Regions from separate parts of the Homo sapiens genome. Here regions 2, 3 and 4 are each linked to region 1. Evidence: promoter capture Hi-C in human tissues and cell types (Jung and others, 2019). All regions are on one chromosome and are shown on one strand. Each heading gives the region's core, a stretch centred on a gene start or on the middle of the fragment in contact. The rest is flanking DNA. Distances are from core to core; before and after follow the strand shown. Region 1 holds the start of INHBA (inhibin subunit beta A). Region 2 overlaps SUGCT (succinyl-CoA:glutarate-CoA transferase). Region 3 overlaps SUGCT (succinyl-CoA:glutarate-CoA transferase). Region 4 overlaps SUGCT (succinyl-CoA:glutarate-CoA transferase).

The links. The method cuts DNA at HindIII sites, captures the fragments that hold promoters and counts their contacts. A contact is called where the count stands out against the background at its distance.
Region 2: a fragment that was not itself captured here is called in contact with the fragment with the promoter of INHBA in region 1 in 2 of the 25 tissues and cell types used here (dorsolateral prefrontal cortex and lymphoblastoid cells).
Region 3: a contact is called between a fragment that was not itself captured here and the fragment with the promoter of INHBA in region 1, in 2 of the 25 tissues and cell types used here (H1 embryonic stem cells and aorta).
Region 4: a contact is called between a fragment that was not itself captured here and the fragment with the promoter of INHBA in region 1, in 1 of the 25 tissues and cell types used here (aorta).

Annotation. Positions count from the first base shown.
Region 1 is chr7:41,701,752-41,704,554 of GRCh38, forward strand. INHBA (inhibin subunit beta A) reads right to left here and starts at 1,339. Exons shown (of 3, transcript NM_002192.4): 1 at 1,254-1,339. The region is part of intron 1 of INHBA-AS1 (INHBA antisense RNA 1); the gene reads left to right. The HindIII fragment of the contact is 9,174 bases long and covers 1-2,803 here.
Region 2 is chr7:40,461,603-40,464,405 of GRCh38, forward strand. All of the region lies in intron 11 of SUGCT (succinyl-CoA:glutarate-CoA transferase), which reads left to right. Among named protein-coding and RNA genes, the nearest start is that of SUGCT-AS1, 84 kb to the right of the region's middle. The HindIII fragment of the contact is 4,360 bases long and covers 1-2,803 here.
Region 3 is chr7:40,495,332-40,498,134 of GRCh38, forward strand. SUGCT (succinyl-CoA:glutarate-CoA transferase) reads left to right here. Exons shown (of 14, transcript NM_001193313.2): 12 at 953-1,055. Among named protein-coding and RNA genes, the nearest start is that of SUGCT-AS1, 50 kb to the right of the region's middle. The HindIII fragment of the contact is 3,548 bases long and covers 1-2,803 here.
Region 4 is chr7:40,689,312-40,692,114 of GRCh38, forward strand. The region is part of intron 12 of SUGCT (succinyl-CoA:glutarate-CoA transferase); the gene reads left to right. Among named protein-coding and RNA genes, the nearest start is that of SUGCT-AS1, 140 kb to the left of the region's middle. The HindIII fragment of the contact is 5,614 bases long and covers 1-2,803 here.

The sequences.
Region 1 (2,803 bases), core at 89-2,588:
AAAGACTCTCTAAAATATATTGGCAAATTATTTTTCTCTGTCATGTGGTAGTTTTTTCAGCTTGCCCCAAGCCTGTCCCGACCAGTGCATTCATAGACAGCCTCCTTGACTGCTTCTTTTTCCCTCAAAGGAACAGTGCAGATGAAATCATCATGGATTTTAGTGTGCACAGAAAAAGAAAAATGTGAATTTTTTAACAATGCCTTTCTAAGGCTTAAAAAAAATTCTTCCCCCTCCCCTCTTTTTCATTTTCTGTCTTATTGCTTTTATCTTGCAGAAGAATCTTTAAGGGGTCCATCTGTTAAAGCGTTCCTTCCCTCTCGGTTTCTTTCCCACACATAAGCCCTCTTGGTTTCTGAAGATACACTCAGCTTATATCTGACACCTAGTGTGTTCATAGCATTACAGTCAAGCAATGCAGTTTAGGTGGAAAGAGTTAATAAATATCATTACTACAAGATAAGATCTGAGTGCAAGGGGAAGAGGGCAAGAAAATTGTGACACTAAGTTATAATTACAGTTTGCACAGGTTAACAATGCTTTCTGAATTATATATACTGTCCCCTTTTCCAAAACAACTATTTGTAAGACTTTTTCTGTTACAAGTAACCTAACACCTTTGGGGTTTCAGCTCCAGAAACATCAATTACTCCACCATTATTGTTAAAACTTTGTCAACATTGCCTAAAAAGCCTCATATTTTTTACGGGGATGGTGAAAGAGAATGGGGGAGGCAGGGGACATTTGTGTTACAATGGTTTTATAAAAAATCTTTGTGCTATAATACTTAACATCATCCACCTATTTGGAGTCACATATACAGTACCCAAAATGTTTTGCAGTTCAATTAAGTTTTACAAGAAAGTCTGAAATACAACCAAAAGTTTAATGGCTCTAAACAACTCAGGAGTCCTAATAGCAGCATTTAGATAAGTGCAACTTATCAATATTTGGATTCTCTCTGCATCTGAGTATGTGTGTGTTCCCTGAATTTACTGTTTGCGAATGTAACTCTTAAAAATAGCTTTCTCTTTGGCATATGTACTTGTATATATGTGCTGAGTGGCTTGTATAAACATATAATCTATTTGCATGCTCTAGGACTATTAAAAGCTGTATTAACCTGCCTGAATAATATAAAAAGGTACACATCACAATGCACATTGGAAATGCCAATTAGTTGTAAAATTCCTCCTAGCTTTCCTATCTTTGAATGTGTAAAGAGCTCAGAAGTAAGAGTTAAAAAGCATTACCTTTCTGGTCCCCACTCTTCCACCAGCCGGCTCTTGTATCATGTGGTAAGAGCTGTCTGAGCTCCTCTTCATGGTATTGGCACTGTGAAGTTTTATACTGTACTACTTATTTGTACACCACACATTGGTACCACTGAAACAGAGGAGGGCTGGGGCTTTGTTTGGGATTGGTTGGAATCAGCATGACATCAGCGGATGACTGGTTTTTCCAGTGTGAGACATTTCATAATTCATTATCTAATGGAAAGCCCTTCCTGGCTTCTGAGACACTACTGGGTGATGCACTGAGCCAGTGAAACCTCTGGCTAGGATTACTCTACCTTTTAGAAAAACATTGGAATCAAATAGATATGTCTCAATGAGTGTGTCCAACTTTCAACTTTTACTACTCGCACACACGTCTCGTTATATTCAGGTTCAGTTTTATGTCTTTACATAAAACATCTGTTACTTCATGAAGTTGCTTCTATTTACAAAGTATTTTATTGTTTCTTTCAGGAAAGAAAATTGGTAGTGTTCTTTATAGGGATTCTAATTTTATATTTTTAAAATAAGCTATTTCATTGAGGAAAAAAATTGGGAAAATCTGTATAATCATATGATGATGGTCTCCCCCGACCCCAACCAACTTACACTATTATTTTACATCTTGAAATTGAATGCCTGCTTCATAAATCAAGAACTTTGGAAATAGTAATTCTCTTTAAATGAACTTCATAAGTATCCTTCCCAGGTCTTTAGAATCTCATTCTAACTAACCAAACACACACACACACACACACACACACAACAACAACAACAACAAAAACCCTCATGCATCATTCTTTTTTACCAGAACTTCAACTCCTATAATTTCTAAATTGTTACAAATATAACAGCAGATTAATGAAAAGAAGTGAACACTCCTTGAAATAGGGGTAAAGCTGGTCAGGCTTTTTTTGTGGGGGAGGGGTGTTGGCAAGTCTGGTAAATAACACAGGAGGAAGGGGTCCTCTGACAAGAACGGTGAAGGGTTGTTTGAAGGACTACAGTTGAAGCATAAGCCCAGTTCTCATGACAAGTTGGATAAAATGTGCAAAATTGGGAGCTAATGAGAGCCATATGACCAGATATGTTGTTTTGTATGCAGGATTTAACATGCATAAAATAAACTTTTCACTGTGCCCACAAGCAAAATATAGAGGCTCTGGCCTCCTGATGTGTGGCTTAAGCAGGTTCCATTAGGACACCAGAAGTTTTCTGTGTAAAAGGGTCTCTCTTGGCTAGATACAGAGAAAGTGTGGGTGCTGAGCTGCATGGGGGTGGGGGGAAGGAGTATTCTAAGAACTGCATATGCAGAAATGAAGTAGGAAAAAAATCATTAGGTTGTAGAGGAAGAGAGTGAATCTGAGTGGCGAAGACAGAAATAGGATTAATGATGGTGAACTCCAAACCTGCCCCTCAGCTTAGCACTGGGTGAACTCAAACCCTTTATAAGAAAGAAACTTCTCCACCCTTTTTGCTGAGAATTAGTGGAGTCAATGACCTTCAGGGCATCTAAACTCACCCCT
Region 2 (2,803 bases), core at 167-2,666, 1.2 Mb before region 1:
TGCCAAACAGAAGTACAATCAACGTTAGTTGTCATTATGAATGATACTGCTCTAGGGCCTTCTCAACATTCTCGTCTTGCTCAGCACATGCATTACACAGCCACCTCAGAACTTGCAGGCATTTTATTTCCTAACAAAAGTGTTACATTAGCTCATAGCCACAAAAAAGGAGCCAGGGAGAAAGGAAGGAGTGGAACCAGCCTTTGGTGGCTGCCAAGTACATGCCAGATAAGTGTTATTATTCCCACTTGATATGAAAATTCTGACATTTAGGGAGGTGGTCTCCAGGTCAGGCACATAGTGAATAGTTAGAAATGGGATTCAAAAGGCTACACCTTTTTCATCTCTCATATTGCCTCCCTGAAGTGGCACATGAAATATGACTGTGTCCTTGTTTGTTTATGCGCTCAAGAAATATTTATTGAGCACTAACTGTGTAGTAGGCACTGTTGCAAGTTGGGGATAGAGAAGTGAACGAAACAGACAAAGTGTATCCATGAAAAATAATACAGGCCAGGACAAGGAAGAATGCCAGAAGTTAAGTGTGAAGCTGGGTTTTTCATTTAGTCTGGTCACAGAGGGCTTCTCTGTGAAAGTGACATTTGATCAGAAGCTTGCAAGAAATGAGAGAAAATGTCTGAGGGAGGCTGGCAGGCATCTGGGAGATGAATTCCAGGCAGAGTTTATGGAGTAAGTCAGAGGACAGTGTGCTTGGATCTGAGGGAGCAAGAGAAGAGGGGTGTCAGGTTGGTTCAGAGAGAGTGGGAGCCCATGGCAGGCAGATCAAGTCGTGAACTCATGAAAGCCTTTATGACAAAGTAGTTTCTTAAACTTGTGAAATAAAGGATTTTTTTTTCTGGCCATAAAATGGATTTGCTTATTGCAACTTTTTTCTAACTTGAAGAGAGAGCGTCAAGGGAGGGAGTGCTCTACCTAGTAGAGAAGAGGTCAAAGCATTTCAGCAACGTGGAGTCAGGAAGACCCCGTTTCTCACCTAGGAAGACCAGAGGGCCAGGTTGAAGTGGTCTATGCTTCTCCATTTATTCAGTCTCTCACATATTCAACAAGCATTTGTTGAACACCTACTATGTGCCATGAACTGTTCTGAGCACTAGGGATATAGCAGTAAAATACAGTCAAGAATTCCTGCCCTCCTGAATTTTCATTTGGTAACCATTGCAGACTTTCTAGAAGACATACTTCTTTTTGGTAGTGGTTGTTTTTGAACTATTACTTAACACATTTGTTTCGGTGAGCCTAAGAAGTTAGTTTTCCATATTTTTCATAATAACCACTTAAAAAATTTTTTCTCTTGCAAAACTATTACAGTTATAGGCTGTACCTGTTACTCATTTATTGTACTTTTTCAACATGTTGATATACATGCTCCAGTTTTTAAAATGTGGTTTGCCAGCCATTTCCATAGTAAAAACATATTTTTAGTAACAGTAGCCACTCACAAATAATCGACTTTACCATGTGAGTCTATCGTGTTTTTGCCTGTTGTCTTCTGTTAAACCTTACATCGCAGGCACTTTCCTTTAATACTTATAGACACTTTCCTTGCCTGATATTTTTATTTTAGAAAATCTTTAAAACGTGAAAATGTGGAGGGATTCATGAGAGTGAATTTGCACAGCAGATAACTTTAAAAACAAACTCTAGGAATGATGAACTCACTGTGTTTATTTTAAAAAGTTTTCTCATCCTTTACACCCAATTCGAAGACAGTGAAAACAGAAGCATTTATGGATTTTTACAAAGTTGGCTCTTGTAAATATACACGTGAATTTCCTATTGTGTTTCAAAATCTTCCTTCCAAAGTATTTTCCTTGAGCAATTTTTGAGTACTCCCCTCCCTGTCCCTTGTAAGCCTTCATTTATATTTTTTAGAATCAGGTGATTCTCCTATGAAAAGTCCAGGCTTTTTTGGAAGTACCTACCAGAGTTGTCAGTCACTTACCTCAGTTCTCTGTTATTCTTGCTAAGTACAGTTTGAAGCTACTCTCTGAGGGCGATCAGCCTCACTCAGGACGGCAGCTGCCTGTTTTGGTCATCAGCTGCGTTTTCCACAGCCAGCACACACGATTCCCCTCAAATGCTCTCAAGTGTTACTATTCCCCAACCAGGGCTGTGAGCAAGTCTTTTTTATTAATCTAAAGGTAGAAGACTTTCCCCTGGAGTTTGCCATTTTATCCAGGGTGTTGCAGAAAGTATGTTTACCCAGCTGCTAACATTGAAAACTAGGTAAAACTCAATCATGTTAAAAATCCCTAGCTAAAACAGAAGAGGAGATATAATGGAGACTAATCCAGCGCCAGATAAAACAATCCCCTTCTTTGCAATGCTAAGGAGCAACAAACTCTTAAACCTGTGCTACTCACACACCAGATCAGCATTTTTGCAATAGTTAGGACCCCAAGAGAGATATTGCAAGTTGTGAATTGAAACTAGGAAGAGAGGGATAAAGATGATGTATTAGTGTTTGGGGAGAAATAATAGGAAAACATGAAATGAGGATGAAGGAGAAGAGAATTGATGGAGAAAATAGACATAAAATTTATTTTATTCTCTCTCTCTTCCTCTCTTCACCAACATTTATTGGCCATTGACTGTGTACCATTGTCCTGCAGATACAGAGCTGAAAGATGAAGCCTGGGCTTTTAAGGAGCTCATGGTCTAATTAGGAAAATAAACACAGAAAGCATTGATTTAAGTAGAGTGTGGGAATTACCTGGGTAATCATATGCACAGTGGATTGGGGAGCCCAGAGAAGGAGCAACTCCTTTAATCTGGGAAATCA
Region 3 (2,803 bases), core at 163-2,662, 1.2 Mb before region 1:
AGTCCATGAATACTCTACTATTGTTTCACTAGCCCTTTCATATTAGTAAAACATTTTAGTCTACTTTGGCTAATATTTTAAAAATGTCTCTTTGGTTACCTAGATTATTAATTAATTAAAACAGGTTTGATATTTTAATAATCAATAATTCTGAAATTCTTCATACCTTAGAAACTAATTGTGTTGTGGTGTCCCTATAGATCCAAGATTTTATTTCTGTGTTCACTGTTTTTACAGAGAAGAAATATAAAACAATAAATCTCATAAATGTGTTAGCTTCCCTTCCTTGAGACCTATTAGAGAAAATAAAGAAAATCCATGTGCTTTTCTGTCTATGAAGTCCAATTTTAAATTATAGTAGAAATAAAACAGACAAAGGATTTGGATGAATTTGAGTTTTGTTGGTTAAACTGAAATATCACTCTTTGCATGTCTTGAGTTGTGCTGGTTAGTAAATCACAGTGCAAAGGTTGTTTGTAGGCCAATGGTTGTGACCATTAATTTTTGTGTACTTTTCCCAAAGCTTTCTTAAAACAGCTATATTAGTATTTTTTTTGTTTTGAAGAATAATATATCAGTGCCTATCCTAACCCGATTTCCACTACCTGAGACCTAAAAGACATATTGCCCAATGACTTCACGCTCAAAGTACAATGATATTATTATTATTAAATTCATAAATTGCTCAGAGAGTTCATAGCAATAGAAATAGGAAGAATTACATCTCTAAATGATGGATTTTTAAACACTAGCACCTGGGTGGCTACTCTTATCCACCACAGGGCCACTCAAGTCATTTCATACAGACAACCTTCTCTCAAATGAGGTGTAAAGAAAGACTAGGAAACATAGTTTTATGACTATTGCTTGCTTTCAAAGAGGGCCACATGATAGAAGAGGCTGTGTTACATTCCTTCCTGTGTAAAAAATTTATCCTTGTTTGTCTTCTTAGGTTTGAAGAAGAACTGACCAGCAAGTGGTTATATCTTTTTGAAGGCAGTGGAGTCCCGTATGGCCCAATCAACAACATGAAGAATGTATTTGCAGAACCTCAGGTTTGTTTTTGAAGTTTAACAACGCCTCTGTTTTCTGTCCAGATTGACTTATATCAAGGTACCTTTGCCATTGATCGCAAGCTTAAGTCACATGATGTGAATTTTCACCATCATATTAAAATTGTTTGTGGGTCTGAGATAAAAAGAACCAGAACTTAGAAGTGCCTGTCCATAAGCATACTTATGTCTCTGTTAGATTTAATATACTGTATTTCTTCATCAGCCACTACATGAAGTTTCTGTGGCCAGGGTATTTAATTTTCCTGAAAAACAGAAATATACACAATTGAGATATTGGGGTTGGGTACTCAGAGACTATTCTTTGTAGGAAGAAATATGAGAACTTTCATACCTCTGATCATATGATTATCTTAAACCTCTGATCATATGATTATACCTCTGATCATATGATTATCTCTCTGATCATATGATTATCTTAAAATGTACAGAGCAAGTCATATTTAATTCTGCAGATGAGAGGACTTTGTTTGCTTTGATGAATATGTGTTATTTGTAAGGCATAAATTTTACACAGATAGATATTTGTGCTCTACGTTGCTTATCAGGCTCCTTTTTGGGCTCCAGGAACAGGGTCACCTGAAAATATATTTACTTTATAACATTGTTCAAGTGATTATTTTTAGATTATGTGAAAATAATGTTTTGATTTTATTACTTCAATCAAAAAACTACAAGCAATTTACCATTTCTCAAATTCATCCATCGATCCCCAAAAGTACAGGGAGTCCATTTTAAAGCTTTCACTATGATTATTCAACTGTCTTGTCAGTTTCCAAAATTCAAAACCATGGGGTATATTTTCTTGGGTTCTTTATATTTATATCGTGGCAGGTTTTTCTTAGAAATAAATTACTGAGCATAGAATACACCTTTTGAGGGAGGAGACCTTTGTTGGAAAACCTTTGGTGCCTTTTATCTTACATGAATATCTGCTTAAAAGAAAATTGAAATATTTTAAATTTAATGGTTACTACATTTACTGGAGAAAAAAAGTGAATGAATTCAGGAATTCTGCTTGTGCTATTTTTTCGGCCAAGATTGTGAATATCTCAAGGCTTTGTTCATGTTAAAACTTTGGTCAATAATGGTCAATAAGTATTTGAGATAAAGGGGCCCATTTGGTGTGTACTATGTGAATTCATCTGAAAGGGACCCCACACCATCAGTGGATTAATGCCTGGTGATTCTTTACAAGGAGGTAGCATTGTGCATACTCTGAATATAGTAGACCAGGGGACTGTTTTTCTCACTTTATAACTTTGAGTGAGGCCAAGCCATCATTTGAAGCTGTCGTGTATTGAGGTGTACGTAGAACTTCATGTTTACCTCAGTTTGAGGGTACATTTTTCTGGAGATATTTCCTAAGAGTTTTTCCATCAGCATTTCTATTGCTCCATCTGTGTTTTATTAGAGATGAAGGCACCAAAGCAAAGAGTTATTTTTAAATAATTATATTATTTAAAAATATATTAAGTATATTCTAACACTACCTATTTTTTAGGCTTTGATAAACAAAGATTTATAATCCCACCCACTATCTTAAAATAATTCACTTTATTGGCTAGCTCAAAGTGAATATAGGATAATTAGGATTTTTATAACTAATTTTCTCTTGTGGTTCAATGTAATTACTTTAATCTTTGCATCTCAATTCTTCTGGAACTACAAAAATTTTTGTTATTGGTCTATGGCATATTTTCAGTCATTAGCCAGTTTCCAAAATGGAG
Region 4 (2,803 bases), core at 83-2,582, 1.0 Mb before region 1:
TGGGGAAAATAAAAATATCACAAAGGCAATCTTTTTTACCTTTTTTATGTCTGAATTTTTTAAGAAAATCATAGATTTCCAAGCAAAGCAGAAAGACCATAGTTTGTTTAGAATGTCACTTTCAAGAGGATTATCGTGGGTAATTTTCCAATGAGAATATTTAGCAACTTTAGTGGAACATAATCCTCTCAGATTTCAGACAGAGGCTTTCTACTCCTGCTGATCTTCCATAAGGACAAAATTCTTTCCTGACTTGTACTTCCTTCACACTATATGAAGGGCATCATATAGCCAACACAGAAAATCTTCTAGTGGAATCCTGGTGCAAATGAGATGAAACCATGGCTAAAGGCCCATTTCTTATAAACAGACCACGTCTGTTTGCTCCAACTCAAATTCTTGTAGCAGCCAAACTGGCTGGACAGTTTCACTTAATTGAGTGGCAGGGGGTGGGGTGGATGGATTGAAGGGTGGGGGGATTGGGGAGAAGGATATTGAGTGAGTCATAAGGATTAGCTGTGCATATTATTTTACTCAGGGTACTCTCTTCCCTAATTCCTATGACTTACCCCTATGGATTTTCCACATGTAAGCAACAAGTAGCCACTGTAAATTACCACTTAATAGGATCAGTTCCCTATGTCAGAAACCTAAAGTACTTCCACAGAATGGGAAATTAATATTTGGCTTTTGCTTTCTGAGAATCCATGCATATGGTCACCATACTACAAAGAATTTCAAATTCATATTTACATAAATGGATTTGTTCTCTTTGCATTTGTAATAGTAACATAAAGGAGTCTTCATAGTTGAGCCCCTTATTGTTGAGTCCAAAAAGGATGCCGAAAACATGTGGAGCTTGGGATATGGGCCAAGATGGTAAACATAATGGTTACAATTTGGTTGTCTGGGACTGTTGCCTTAAAGTTGTTGTATTCACAATATCATTATATATATGATTAAGAATATTTTTGTGACATGAGTAGACTTCTGCTCAAAAAACAATTTATAAAACGTTTTAGAACCTTAAGTAGACCTTCTAGCTACCTTTAGATGTACTCTATAAATCAAATATTATCTTTCGTAAGCACTTACTTCTTCCCTATGCCTAATTATGTTAATTATTGCCCAATACATTAATTATATTAATAGGTATATTATGCTTAATATGTTAATTATTTAAAAACTACTTTCTCATAATTCTTGCTGTAAGTCATATTAATGGAATAGCAAGATATAGAGAGATCAATTCATCCCTATAATTTTTTTTTTTTGAGACAAGGTGAAACTCTGTCGCTCAGGCTGTAGTGCAGTGGCTGGATCTCAGCTTACTGCAACCTCTGACCTCCTCGGCTCAGATGATCTTCCCACCTCAGCCTCCCGAGTAGCTGGGACTACAGGCACGTGCCAAGATGCCTGACTGCCTGACTAATTTTTGTATTTTTTTGTAGAAACGGGGTTTCACCATGTTGCCCAGTTTGATCTTGAATTCCTGGGCTCAAGCCATCCACACTCCTCAGCCTCCCAAAGTGCTGAGATATAGGCAGGAGCCACCACACCTGGCCATCCATATAAACATTTGAGCTGAAATCTTAGGAGGACCTAAAGGTTGTAACTAGAAGTCACTGACAGACACCCTCAAGGTCTGGTTCTTCTCCAGAGGAAAAGGCAAGAGCCCATCTGGACGAAATATACTTGGGCCTTTTGCACTTGGCTGTCTGATATTTCCTCTGGAATAGAAAAGGAAGACTCAGGAAAAACTGATATTGGGTCTTCCTACTGTTGGAGAACTAAGGATCTCAAAGAATGAAGACGGATTCTATAGAAACAGGAAACAAGTGGAGCTGCATGAAATCCTGGAGTGACCTGGCCCTCTACTTGAAGATGCAAGAAATGGTTTTTGGGCTCAAGGTCAATCAATATTTTCTCTTACGAACCTACAGTGTATATGAGACTGTGTAGACTCCTGAAAACTACTTGATTAATTTATGTGAGAAACTTTTTTTTTTTTTGCCTTTAGTACTGATATAAGACAGAACTTTTTCTCCTCACAGCTGGATCATACCCAGAAGCCATATTTCTTACTGATCATGAGCTATCATAGCTATTGGGGTTTAGAAAGAATTGAAATCAGCATGATCAATAATTCTTCCCAGAAGTCAGGCCCAGCTTTCTGGTGAGAGTGGAATCAGATATAAACTTTTGATATATGTTAGATATACGCTAGATATATCAAAAGTTTAATGGAGCCAAACCAAGACAGCCTGCTATATCCACTCAGTGATGGCAGCCAGAAATTATTAAAGTCTTGGCTTAAGAATCCTATCTTTATCTTCATACTAGAAACTTTTTTGACATCAGATTTATAGTATTCAAGTCAAATGGAAAGTCAAATGGATGTCTTTCTTTCTTAGAGTCTGCTTGGATGAACTCACCTAAAACTTGTCTTAGAATTCTTTTTTATCTAAAGTTTCAACAACCGCCTTCTTCTTTTCTAGGGAGAGGAATGGCATGGAGTTTGGGGAAGGAGGAATATAAAGAGAAGAAAATGTGGGCAGATTTCAAGAGACACAAAAATTTGTTAAGTGCTCACCATGTAGCAAAAATATTTATAACCCTTTCTCATTGGATTCTTATTGAAATGATCTATTTCATAGATAAACAGAGGTTCATGGAGGTCTTGCCATAGGAGGTGATAAAGCCAGAATTTGAACTAGATGTCTCTAATACCAAAAATTGTGCTGTTTCGCTGTATCACCTCTGCCTCACCTATCCTAGTCACTCGTTAATAATGTCTCAGTAA